2 separate regions of the Homo sapiens genome follow, and region 2 is linked to region 1. Evidence: promoter capture Hi-C in human tissues and cell types (Jung and others, 2019). All regions are on one chromosome and are shown on one strand. Each heading gives the region's core, a stretch centred on a gene start or on the middle of the fragment in contact. The rest is flanking DNA. Distances are from core to core; before and after follow the strand shown.

What was found. The method cuts DNA at HindIII sites, captures the fragments that hold promoters and counts their contacts. A contact is called where the count stands out against the background at its distance.
Region 2: a contact is called between a fragment that was not itself captured here and the fragment with the promoter of GGT6 in region 1, in 1 of the 25 tissues and cell types used here (pancreas).

Annotation. Positions count from the first base shown.
Region 1 is chr17:4,555,804-4,561,958 of GRCh38, forward strand. It overlaps GGT6 (gamma-glutamyltransferase 6), which reads right to left and starts at 4,774. Exons shown (of 4, transcript NM_001288702.2): 1 at 4,579-4,774; 2 at 3,755-3,957; 3 at 3,540-3,653; 4 at 1,124-3,254. The coding sequence starts at 4,718. The coding sequence ends at 2,212. The HindIII fragment of the contact is 6,687 bases long and covers 4,250-6,155 here.
Region 2 is chr17:4,517,296-4,524,588 of GRCh38, forward strand. All of the region lies in intron 2 of SPNS2 (SPNS lysolipid transporter 2, sphingosine-1-phosphate), which reads left to right. Among named protein-coding and RNA genes, the nearest start is that of SPNS2, 22 kb to the left of the region's middle. The HindIII fragment of the contact is 4,831 bases long and covers 1-4,529 here.

The DNA.
Region 1 (6,155 bases), core at 3,524-6,023:
ATAATTATGAAGAGAATTAGGAATGCAAGGGTCAGGAGGAGGCTTTTAAGTGCTGGAACGTGAATACATCACCCGTTAAAAACACGGCTAATTACTATTCAATAGGGTCTCCAATAATGATTTGAGGGGTTGGTCAGGGAAGGCCTCTGTGAGGAAGTGGCATTTGGGATGAGAGCTGAGTGACAAGAAGGGCCCCCCTCCCCCGTACTCCTGCAAGGATCTAAGGGGACGAAATCCCAAGCCTTGCAACTACAGAGACCCAGGGCTGGAGGGGCTGAGGCTGGCGAGAAGCAAGGCTGCATGGGGCCCCGGGCTGGGATTTCATTCTGAGGGTGATGGGAAGTCACTGGTGAGTTTAATGCAGGGGCAAGCCTGGATCCGATTTACATTTTAACAAGATGATGCTGGCTGCTGTGTGGGGGATGGACTGTAGGTCTGCGCAGGTGGAAGCACGGGAAGACCATTTAGAGATAGTGGTGGACTGGACCCAGGGAAAATGAGAACAGGTCAGATTTGGGCTGATGTGGAGCAGGTGGGGTGGGTGATGGAGTTAGATGTCGGGGGAGAGGAAATGAGGGGGATGCCAGGTTTGAGACTGAAATAACTGGGTACATTGTGGTGCCATTACGGAGAAGAATTTTCTTGGGAGTGGGAGGTAAAGGTGGTGGGATCAAACGGTCTATTAAATCAGAGAAGCCTTTTACAATGGCAGGGGAGGGGAACTGCTACTGGTCACCCTCGCTTCTTGGTTTGAGAAGCTGTTTATAGAGGGCTGTGGTCCAGAGAGGACCTAACCCTTGGGGGAGGTCAGGGCTAACCTTCGCCTTGAATTTCCACACGCTCAACTCCAACCCCTTTGTACCCAAGCCCCTGGGGCGCCTTCTCACCCTCTCAGCCGCTTCCCTGCTTTGCTGTCTGTTCTAGAAAGTGAAATGAAAACATTCACCTTGCACATCTGGTGCCCCAGGAGGCAGGAGGTGAGCGGAGCAGGGGGAAGCTGAAAGATACCAACCCAGGCTCTCCCCTCTCTGGTTGTTGGTCACCTGTGCTGCCCATCAGGGAAGCCCTGACTCCAGTTGCTTCAAAAGCTGTTGGAAAATTAACCAAGAAGCAGGAATGGTGCTTGGTTTCCGGGAGACTTGATCTTTATTTTGTACCCAGTCTGGTTGAGGCAGATAGGTAAGGGGTGTCCTGAAGGGAAGGACAGAGATGCCAACAGTACCCTGGGCTCTGCCTGTCCTGCTTCGTGGGGCCCAGGGCCTAGGCAGAGGCTCTGCACTCTTTCCACTGTCCTCCTGAAAGCTGGATCTGAACTCAGTGCTAGCCCCAGGCCCTACTGCTTTTTCGTTATTACCCTGATTTTCTTAGCTGATAAAATAGCTAGAGATTCCATCCGGTGTGGGTGATCTGAAGAATGATTGTTAGCTCTGGATGCCAGAACTCAAGTCTAGGTAACTTAAAAGGCCAGAGGTTGGGGCCTGAGCCAGCAGTGAGCACATAATAAATCCTTTTTTTTTTTTTTTTTTTTAGACAGGGTTTCCCTCTTGTTGCCCAGGTGGGGTTGCAATGGTGCGATCTTGGTTCACTGCAACCTCCACCTCTCGGGTTCAAGTGATTCTCCTGCCTCAGCCTCCCAAGTAGCTGGGATTACAGGTGCCCGCCACCATGCCCAGCTAATTTTTTGTATTTTTAGTAGAGACGGGGTTTCGCCATGTTGCCCAAGCTGGTCTCGAACTCCTAGCCTCAGGTGATCCACCTGCCTTGGCCTCCCAAAGTGCTGGGATTACAGGCATGAGCCACCGCACCCAGCTATTTTTTTATTATTATTATTATTATTTTAAAGACAGGTTCTCACTCTGTTGTCCAGGCTGGAGTGCAGTGGTGTGATCCTAGCTCTCTGCAGCCTTGAACTCCTGAGCTCAAGCGAGCTTCCTGCCTCAGCCTCCCAAGCAGCTGGGACAACAGGCATGTGCCACCGCCCCTGGCAAATTTTTAAATTTTTAGTACAGATGAGATCTTGCTTTGTTGTCTAGGCTAGTTTCAAACTCCTGGCCTCGAGGTATCTTCCTGCCTTGACCACCCAAAGTGCTGAGATTACAGGTGTGAGGCACCACACCCTGCGGGTGCACACTCCATTGCTGCTGTGTCTGCTCTGCTCCTGCCCCCATGCTTCAGATAACTCTGCCTTCTGCCAGACCCACCCCCATCCTGTTAGAACCCCTGGAAGGGGCAGCAGGCATGGGGGACACTGGAGACATGGGCGTGCTCTGTGTGGGCTGCCACCTGGAGCAGGGTCCCTTGGCCACAAGTGCTGGGATGCTCTGTTGGTTCTTGCTGACCCTGATGCTGGTGCTGGGCCTGGGTAGGGGGCCTTGCTGCCAGATGCCTGAGTAGGGTGTGAGTCATGGCCCTGGCCACATCAGGGGTCCCTGAAGCCACAAGCCCCAACACATCAGCCTCTGTGTCATCCAGGCTGCCACGGAGGATGAGGGGGCAGGCCCAGGCACTAGTGGTAGACTTGGCCACCAGGTTGCTGAGCAGAACCCCAGTGCTTGGGGACAGGTGTGCAGAGCCAAAGGAGCAGTTGAGCGAGGAGGTGAGAAGGAGCACAGAGCCGCTGCTGTCCACGGCGGCCAGGGCACTGCTCTCGGGGCTCACAGCAGTCTGCAGGAACGGTGGGCAGGGGTCAGGGATGGGCGCCCCGGAGCGCAGGGCTGCCTCCAACAGTGCCAGCAGTTCTGGGCCAGCTGAGGGACTGGGGGTGGTGAACAGGATGCCCTGGGGCACAGGTAGCTGCTCTGCTGGTTCCAAAGTGGGCCTGGGCACAGCCGAGGGCACCTCCACCCCCAGGTCTCCCGCCAGTAGACTCAGTAGAGCATCCCCAGCAAGGTCTGAGGTGGGAGCGAGGGCTGCGCTGCGAAGCACAGCTGCCAGTTGTGGGTTGGTGGCTCGGGCCCCAGCGCCCAGGGGTGTCCCATCAGCATGGCAAAGTAGTGGACAGAGGCCTTCTGTGCCCCGAGCCACCAGAGCCCTTGCCAGGGGTGTGTCCACCAGGAAGCCCTCCTGAGCCAGCGTGGTGGGGCCCACTAGCAGGCGTGGCCAGGGCAGGCGGCCGAAGCGTGCATGCAGCAGGTGCAGGGTGGGCAGAGCCGCGGGCAGCCCCAGGCCGGGGGCCAGGGTCTGTGCTGGGCCTGATGTCAGGGCCGTGGAATTGCCTGAGGAGCTATCGTGGAAGAGGCCCCAAAACATGGCACCTGCAGGAGACAGAGGGGTCCCTCAGCAGCCGCAGGTCAAGGGTCACTGACTTGTTTCAGTCAAGATCCCTTGACTGAGCCTGGGATCAGGAGTTACTGACCAGGCCTGAGGTCAAAGTTCCACAGACCCGGGCTCAAGGGTCATAGCCTGGGGTTGGACTGCTGCCCAAACCCTAAGTCCTGCTCACTTAGCAGTCTTGAGGTCAGTGCTACTGACTCCCTAAGTTCCAGGTCACTGATCAGGCTGTGGGTTGGGGTTGCAGTCTGGGGTCAGGGGTCACTGACCTAGCCCCGTGGCATGAGGATGCACCACTGCCAGGCACAATGCAGCTCCAACTCCAGCATCCACGACGTTGCCCCCGGCAACAAGCAGCTCTCGGCCTAGGTGGGAGCATGTGGCTGCAGCAAGGAAGGCACTGTCATGCAGCAAGGAGGGGGGCTAGGCTGGGCTGGTGACCCCTGACCCTCCCCTCCCCAAGCCGCCCCCAGCACTGACTGACCTGCAGGGCTGATGATGGCACCGTGGTGGTATACGCCAGGGCCGTGGGAGTGTCCGCCGGGTGGAGGGGCCACAGAGCCCAAGCTTCCTGTCGACCTGCCCTGATTCTGGAGCTGCCTCACAGCCAGGGAGCAGCCAACAGCCAGCAGCAGCAGGGCTGCCACTACACGGGCCCAGGTTCCGGGCAGCCCGCCAGCCTTGTTCCTGCAGAGGGGGGGTGTCCTGAGCCACGGCTGGGACAGAGGGATGCCCAAGGACCCCAAGAGACCCCAGGGAATATTTCCCAAAAGGTTTGATTTAGCAAGAGGAGCACAAGTCAGCCAAGGAGAAAGGGCTTCTTGGCAGCGGGTGCATCTTGGGCAGACATGGGGATGGGAAAGCATCTGGGGAAACTGAGCCTAGCTAGGGAGGGAGCCTCTGGAGGGGAGATTGGTGGGGCAGAGTCCACTCAGGTGGGAGGGAGGCCCAGTGGGGTGTGGCAGGCAGGAGAGAAGGGGCTGGGGAGCAGGCCCAGCCAGGCGTAGTCAGGCCCCAACCTGCCCAGCAGGTGCCTCCTGCACCAGGACTTGGGGGCTGGGGACCTTTGACAAAGCAGCAGATGGGACAGAGGCTGGCTTGGTACAAATGTCCCTCCAGATGCACAGACTTTTGATTGGGTCAGGCCAAGTCTCGGGCTACAGCCTGGGTTTTCCCCCAAATTGACCGTACAGTGCCTGGAGCTAAACCCAGCGGGGAGTCGCCTGGTCCCCCTGAGGGGCTCCAGAGAGAGGGACTTGCCAACCTCAAGCCTGGGGAGCCTGGTGCCCAGACCCCTCCCTTACTTACCTGGAAGAGTCCTGGTGCCTCCGGGGGTTTAGAACCAGCGCCTCTGATGTCTCCTCCTCCTCCACTTCCTCCTCCGACTCCAAGCTTGGCTCCCAGGGCAGCAGCTTCTGATAGACCACGGGCTCTTCTGCCCGCTCCATGGCCCCCCAGTGCTCGCCCCAGCCCTCCTGCCTGCCAGCCTTTCCGGCTGTGTCTCAGAGGCCCTGCCCAAGCCTGGCAGGTGGGAGGTGGCAGCGACCTTGGGGAAGGGTGGGGGTGGAATCCAGAACAGGTCTGGGCAGGGCACGGGGCCAAGGAGGCTGCATGTGAGCCTGCCCCATTAGGACACAAGGCCCGAGGAGCTCTCGCGACAGGGTTCCCGGGGTGACTGCCTGTAAGGGGCCACAGCTCAGTGAGGTCGAGAAGGAGTTCAGCCTTAATGCCACAACCTTGATACTCAGGGCACCTGCTGGGCTCCTCCCCTTGGGGGATGTAGCCCATGGATCCCACCCACCTGGGACTCTAGGGACTGTGGACTTGAATTAGAGCTACGGTTTCACGGTGGCTTGGGTCAGAGCTCCCACGTGCTTGAGTCTGCACGTGACTAGGTTCTGGCGTAGGGGTGTCTGGTCTCTGGCCGGGGTCAAGGCTCAGCCTGTGGCTACTCTGGGTCTGGGTTTCTTTGAGGAGCAACTTGGTTCGTAACTCCCTGTGCGTGTTTTGCGACTCTTGTCCAGAAGGTAGCGCCACAGCCTGGAAACCAACATTTCTAAATTCATTCTGGGATTCCCATCAAGGACTTGTTGCAAAACAGTGCTGTTTGTAACAGTCCCAAATTGGAAAGTGCCCAAACATCCATTATCGTTAGAATGAATGATGTAAGTCACAATGGACCACTCTGCAGCAAAGAGAGTGAGTGATCTACAATTATATGCAATAATATACACAGGTCTGACAAGCATAAGGACGAGGGAAAGCAGCCAGGCAGGAGACAGCGCACGCTATATGCTTTCATTTACACAAAGTACACAAACAGGCAACAACAAAAGAGCAACAACAGTCTGCCCTTAGAAGTCAGATAGTGACTGGAGGAGGTACCAGGGGGTTTCTGGAATGCTGGAGATGTCCTTTCTTTCCTTCCTTTCTTTCCTTTCCTTTTTCCTTTACCTTTCTTTTCTTTCTCTTCTTTCTTTCTTGACAGAGTTTTCATTCTTGTTGCCCAGGCTGGAGTGCAATGGTGCAATCTCAGCTCACTGCAACTTCCACCTCCTGGGTTCAAGCAATTCTTCTGCCTCAGCCTCCCGAGTAGCTGGGATTACAGGCACATGCCACCACGCCTGGCTAATTTTTTGTATTTTTAGTAGAGACAGGGTTTCACCATGTTGGCCAGCCTGGTCTTGAACTCTTGACCTCAGGTGATCCGCCCGCCTCAGCCTCCCAAAAGTACTAGGATTACGGGTGTGAGCCACCGCGCCCGGCCGAGATGTTGTTTCTTAATCTGAGTGTTGGTGACACGAGTGCCCTGGGTGTGAAAATGCATTGAGTTGGGCATTGATGACGTGTACTTTTCTATGTGAATATTGTCTTTCAATAAAAAA
Region 2 (7,293 bases), core at 864-3,363, 41 kb before region 1:
ATTCTTCATGACCCAGAGCCTGCATGGGACACGGGACAATTTCCACTGAAGACAAACTCAAATTCAAAATTAATAGAGCAGGCCAGGCGCGGTGGCTCACACCTGTAATCCCAGCACTTTGGGAGGCTGAGGCGGGTGGATCACCCGAGGTCAGCAGTTTGAGACCAGCCTGAACCAACATGGTGAACCCCATCTCTACTAAAATACATAAATTAGCTGGGCATGGTGTGGGCGCCTGTAATCTCAGCTACTCAGGAGGCTGAGGCAGGAGAATCGCTTGAACCCAAGAGGTGGAGGTTGCAGTGAGCCAAGATCACACCACTGCACTCCAGCCTGGGTAACAAGACCAAGACTCCGTCTCAAAAAAAAAAATTAATAGAGCATACAGTTCTCCCTCATTTTTTTGAGAGGGAGTCAGCTGACCCTGAAGATGGGAAAACAGATTCGTCACAAAGGGACTTTAAAATTAGGTGTGTTTAATATTCAAAGCTCTAAAGGAAAGGATAGGACTTGTAAGACAAGAACAGAACATTATGAAAAGAGAACCGGAAAATGTTTAAAAGACTAATATTCGAAAATACCAGAAGTGAAAAATATGTATTAAAATAAAAAATGGAATAATTAGGTGAGTTAATGAGTAGACTACACCTAGTTGAAAAGAAAAGTGAATTAGAAGCTAGATCTGAGGAAATCAGCGTCAATGCAACACAGGGAAGGGTGAGGGAGAACGAAGGCTGTTTGTGGCACTGCCTGACTCGAGTGGCCTGTGGCCCATTGGCCATGGGTTGGCGTATGGGGAGAACAGAAGGAGAAGAGGCTGGACAGTGGGCAGGGTCTGAGTGTGAAAGGCTTGAAGGCCAAGATAAGGCATGTAGGTTTTGTCTTGGGGCAGTAGGGAGCCAGAGAAGGTTTTGGAACAGGGCAGTCCGTGTAAAATGTGTGTCTCGGGCCGGGCGCGGTGGCTCACGCCTGTAATCCCAGCACTTTGGGAGGCTGAGGCGGGTGGATCACGAGGTCAGGAGATCGAGACCATCCTGGCTAACATGGTGAAACCCCGTCTCTGCTAAAAATACAAAAAATTAGCCGGGTGTGGTGGCGGGTGCCTGTAATCCCGCTACTCGGGAGACTGAGGCAGGGGAATGGCATGAACCCAGGAGGCGGAGCTTGCAGTGAGCCGAGATCGCGCCACTGCACTCCAGCCTGGGCGACAGAGCGAGACTCCGTCTCAAAAACAAAACAAAAACAAACAAACAAAAAAGATGTGTGTCTCAGGATATTCATTCTGGGACCAAGTGTGGGAAGGGGCAGCAGAGGAAGCTGAAGGCTACTCAGGGCCGGGGTTTGTAGGCTCACGAGGAAGTGCCAGGATGGGGATGGGGGAACGGAGGGAGAGTGGGGACAGAGGAAGAGCCAGCTCAAACCGAAACCAGACAGTGCCTCTGTTTTGGGGGTAAGTCTCCTTCTGCCTGTTCTCCCCTCCCGTCTTTGGCCAGCCCAGCGACTCCTGCTTCAGCAGACTTGGGTTCTGAAGGCACAGCCGGGCAGCCCCTGCGGCTGTTCCCCAAAGCCCTCCTTTTCAAGGAGTGGCCCCAAAACCTCATTCACCCTGAGGCCTGAGAGCCCAACACAAGGTTTACATCCTGAGTAGGGGATCACAGAGCAGGTGTTCCCGTCCTTCCACCGGGAAGTCTGAGCGTGGTGAGCTTTCAGGCGCTGATGGGGCCATCTGTCCTGAGCATTCTCCGTCAGCTTGGCCAGCCCAGGCCGTCCCTTGGATGGCAGAGCCTGGCCCCCGCCCCACCCATGCCTGCCTGAGCACCCTCCCTGCCCACAGGATGTGGAGGATGGTAGGTCTTCTCCAAATAACAGATCAGCCATGTAAAAATAGCCGTGGCTCAGCCCAGGCCGAAGCAAGGGCTGAATGCAGGCTCCAAGGCCACAGGGCGGGGGCTCAGGGCTCCCTCAAGCTCAGACTTGCCCTTTCCTGCTCCAAAACTGCTTTCTGGGGTCATACAGGCCATGTGTGCCATGGGGATGGCTCCGCTCACCATGGACAGGGGTCCTGGGGCTGCCCACCAGGACACCGAGGGCCCGTGGGGGTTCTGAGCTCTGGGCTGCCGTGAGAGGTGGACAGCACTGGCTTTCTGACGGCCTCCTGCCAGCCTGGCGAGGAGGAGGGAGTGAGGCCCTGGCCCAAGACCCCGAGGCAGGCGGGCTGGTCTGACCCCTCCCTCCCTGCTGTCACGGCCCTGCCCGCTCGGCCCTGGCTCCCTGCCCTGCCTCTCCATTGTCCTAGACCTGTGGGCTCAGCACACCCTCCACAGGATGTCCCTGCGGGAACTGCTGGGAAAGCCGCCCCTACCAAAACCAGGGGTGGGGCTGCCAGTCTGCCCAGAAAGCTCTCCTCAAACAAACAAAGACCACGGGATTGCGGGGTGGTGGGCAGGGGAAGCTTCTAGCTTGGAGGCCCAGCCCAGGCTGGTCTTTATTCTCAGCAGAGTTGCCTGCTGGCCTCTGTGTCCCCATCGGACACAGTCCACATGGGCAAGGCTTCGCCTATCCTGTCCCTTCTGCCAGGAACATTCTCTCAGCCCCCTCCCCGTCCCTACCCTGATTGTGTTCAGGCCCCTCCATGGCCTGTGACCTCCAGGGGGCCAGGCGGGGTCCTCCCTCCTGTCTGTCCTGAGCAGAGAGAGGGCAGCAGTGATGGATCCCACCTCCCTCCTGACCCTGGACTGCCATGTCCCAAGGGAAGACACTGAGGGGCAGGCTGGTCCAGACTGTGCCTTCCTAATTTGGTCTGTCATCTCGGGCAACTTCCTCCACCTCTTGGGGCCTCAGTGACCTCAGCTGTTAGATAGGGATGGACGTGGGGAGGATCAGGTGAGCTAAGGGCACGTAGGTGCTTGGGCAAGTTCATCAGGCTGGGGCCGGTGGGTGGGGACGGGGCGTGCCAGCTTCTGCCAGGAGTCCACCTGCAGTCCTGGGGACTTCTGCCCATCTAAGTGAGGAGCCAGAAACCAGGGAGGGGTTGAAAGAGCTAAGAAGGGCCCGTGCTTCCTGCTCCACTGTGGGCAAGAGGAGAGAATGGAGCATGATGGCCGGGGTCTGGCGAAGGTCTGGGTCACGTCCCTCCAGTCCCTCGTCACCCCCCCGGGAGGGGGCTTTTTCAAGGATCCTACCATGGTGTTGGGGGGCGGGGTGGAGAGAGCGCGCTGTGGTTCTCTGCCGCCTTCTAAACACCAAACCCTGTCCTGGTCTTTAGCCCAGTCCTCCCTCCACAGCCTCATCTCTCGCTGCTTCCTCTTGAGCATCCTCAGGCCATGGCCTGACCTGTCTCCTTGCTGTCCTCAGCAGGCCCTGAACTTTCCCTGACCTTGGGAACATCAGCTGGGACCTTCCCCCTTCCCAGCATGGCAGTCTGGGGAGTGATTTAGAGCAAGGACTCTGGAGTCTGCCAAACTGGGATTTAAATTCTGGCTCAGCCGCACACTCGCTGTGTGACATCACTTCTTTTGGCCTCCATTGTCTCCTCTGTAAAATGAAGAGAACAGAATCAAAAGAGATCATCTGTGCATATGTCAAGGCTGCATGCTGGGCCTTGCCTATATATCCATAAATAATAACTGCAGTTATCATGAACACTAAGCATCATGCCTCGTGAACCATTATACAATATTGCTGATCTGAAGTTTATATTTCAGCGTATATTCTTGATGTTAAGTATTATCTTAGCGGTAAACTCCTATGCATGCTTCAGTGCCCAGCTTTGTCACCACCGCCTCCGGGAAGCCTCTCTTCATTATCCTGGCAGGATCTGGAGCTCCTTGGTGGTTCCCCAACATAGGTTGTCCTTTAAACAGAGCAACCTATGAACAAGATCTGCCCCTGGCCAGACAGGGGGAAACTTCTCTTCTGATTCCTTCTGTCCACTTGCCACCTAGCACAGACAGGCACAGGGAGAACAATTCCTCCTCCTCCCCCAACATGTGTCAGTCCTGATGCAACTGGAAATCTCCCTCCTGCCACATTCTGATCTGATCTCAGGCAGGTCCTTGGAGGCAGGCCCAGCAGGAAAAATTCTTTTTCTAAATGTGAGGAAATAATTTCTGCCTTGACTAATTTAAACAAGGGCCCAGTGTTGACCAAGGCCGGCCTGCTCTGGGCAGGGTGTGGCATTAAGCACCTTGCACGTGCTATCCAGCACCCAGACCCACCCTGGAGAGCTGCTATTTTTATCTTCATTTTACAGATGAGGATGCTGGCATGTTGGCGCTGGCTCAGGCCAGCTCATGAGAGTCAATTGTTAACATTTCAGGAATGGTGTGTGAGCTAGTCGTAAAATACAACCATTGTTAAAAACTAAATGATATCGGCTTACAATTAAATAATTAGAAACAAGGTAATAACTACTCAAAAGTCCTCACTTCCTAATTATTTTGCTGTGTTTCAGCGTTATCTGTGGTCCTATGGTGAGTGGCGTCTGTTCTATTTGTGTGGTAGAAACACTGGACAATGGCGTGTCCCCGCACATCCCTTTCCAACGCCCATCAGTGACACGACGTGGGTAGCTTGAACTCAGCCAGGGCGGAGTGTTTACACCACAGAAATGGGCAAACACGGCCGGGCACGGTGGCTCACCCCTGTAATCCCAGCACTTTGGGAGGCCGAGGCAGGAGGATCACCTGAGATCAGGTGTTTGAGACCAGCCTGGCCAACATGGCAAAACCTTGTCTCTACTAAACATTCAAAAATTAGCCGGGCGTGGTGGCAGATGCCTATAATCCCAGCTACTTGGGAGGCCGAGGCAAGAGAATCGCTTGAACCCGGGAGGCAGAGATTGCAGTGAGCTGAGACGGTGCCACTGCACTCCAGCCTGGGCGACAGAGCGAAACTCCATCTCAGAAAAAAAAGAAATGAGCAAACACGCCACATCAGGGCTCCCCTCACCCTTTATCAGAGCCAGTTAAACATATATCAGCACACCACTGAAGGTGAGACACAGAATGGCTGTGGCCTGACTGAGGTCACCGGCTGGGAAGGAGCGGAGGTGAATTTGAGCCCAGGGAGTGTGCCTCATGCCCGGATTTGTGCACCCGCATGCTGATTCTCCCCAAGGCCTCTGGAATTAACAGGTCTGCTCGTACACCCACCACCCACGCGCACTCACTGGCCTGTTCTTGCTGGCATAAAAGAGGGGCAGTCACTCCTCCAGCCAGGTTCAGGGGAGCTCTGCCTGGCCCTCTCGCCTCTCTTTCACCTCTCTCTTTTCCTCCTTCCTCCCTCCCTCTTTCTCTTCTCTCAGGTCCCATCTCGCCAGGGTCTCAGGCCCACGGAGGAGCAGCCGGGACCACGCACACATTCAGCCTGGCGGTCAGAGGCCAACTGGCTGCCATGTCTGTCACTCCCAGCCTTTGTCTGGCCATCTGCCCATCAGCTGTGGGACTGCTTTCCAGGGGGAGGGATGGGGGGCCACCTCGCTGTGTGACCTAGGGTCCACCCTACCTTGCTCTGGGCCTCTTCATCCCACCTGGGACCTCCAAGGCCCCTCCCATCACTGGCAGTGGCCTCCCTGTGGAATCTTCTAAACCTCTTGTTCTGGAAGAACAAAGCCAGGTCACGGCCTTTGTTCGACATCCCCTCATGTTTTCCTTTCTCACCCATGGACGTCACAGTCATCACAGTGGGCTCCGGGGCCCCACCCCAGCCTCTTTCCTGCTCCTCCAACATGCTAAGTAAACTCCTGCCCCAGGGCCTAGGCACTTGCTGTTCTTGCCCCAATAATTGCGTGATTTGTTTCCTTACCTCCTCCAGGTCCTGGCTGAAATACCCACTTTGACCGCTCAATTTAAAATTGTGGTGGCCGGGTGCAGTGGCTCACGCCTGTAATCCCACACTTTGGGAGGCCGCGGCAGGTAGATCACTTGAGGTCAGGAGTTTGAGACCAGGCTGGCCAACATAGAGAAACCCCGTCTCTACTAACAATACAAAAATTAGCTGGGCGTGGTGGCAGGCGCCTGTAATCCCAGCTACTCAAGAGGCTAAGGCAGGAGAATTGCTTGAACCTGGGAGGCGGAGGTTGCAGTGAGCGGAAATCGCACCACTGCACTCCAGCTGCCTGAGCAACGGAGCAAGACACTGTCTCACAAACAAATAAAACACCAGCTAACTATATCAATAAATTTCTCTCAGCCAGGCACGGTGGCTCACGCCTGTAGTCCCAGCACTTTGGGAGGCCGAGGCAGGTGGATCACCTGAGGTCAGGAGTTGGAGACCAGCCTAGCCAACACGGTGAAACCCCGTCTCTACTAAAAATACAAAAATCAGCAGAGCGTGATGGTGTGTGCCTGTAATGCCAGCTACTCGTGAGGCTGAGGCAGAGGTTGCAGTGAGCGGAGATTGCACCATTGCACTCTAGCATGGGTGATAGAGTGAGACTGTTGTCTCAAAAAATATAAAATCGTGGCATCCACTTGCTCTCACACACACCCTTCCAAGCTCCTGTTTCAGCCCCTCCCACCCTCTGTAGCACTTGCCACCATCTGACAAGCTGTGTTATTGATTTGTTTATTTCTTTATTGTCTATTTCTCCTCATTCGAATGAAAGCTTCATAGGATAGGGGTTTTTGTCTCTTTTGTTGATTGATATATCCCAAACACCTAAAACGGTTCCTGGTGCATTGTAGGTACAAAAAAATTGTTGTTGTTGAATGACAAGACGGTAGAATGGACAGATGGATGACAGTGTTTTCAGCCATTAGGAAAGGCCCTGCGGCGCGCTGGGAGTGAGGGCAGCTGTGTGGTCTAGCAGGTGCGAAATCTGGAGTTCCAGGCCCAGTTCTGCCTGATTTGCTGTGTGACCTTGCGTAGATCTCTTCCCCTCTCTGAGCTTCTTTCACAAGTAGAACAAGGGGTGCAGTGTGGTAAAGTATAAGGAACACAGGCTCTGGAGTCAGGCAGCTGGTGTCAGATCCCCACTGGAACATTTACTGCCTGTGGGGTCTTGGCCAAGTCACTCTCCCTCTGAGTCTGTCTCCGCATCTGTGAGGTGGGAGGGGGCTGGAAAGATACGTAATACATGAGATACAAAGATACATGATGAGATATGGCTGGGCGCGGTGGCTCACACGTGTAATCCCAGCACTTTGGGAGGCCAAAGTGGGTGGATCACTTGAGGCCAGGAGTTCAAGACTAGCCTGGCCAACATGGCAAAACCCCATCTCTACTAAAATACAAGAATTAGCCAAGTGTGGTGGCGCATGCCTGTAATGCCAGCTACTCAGGAGGCTGAGG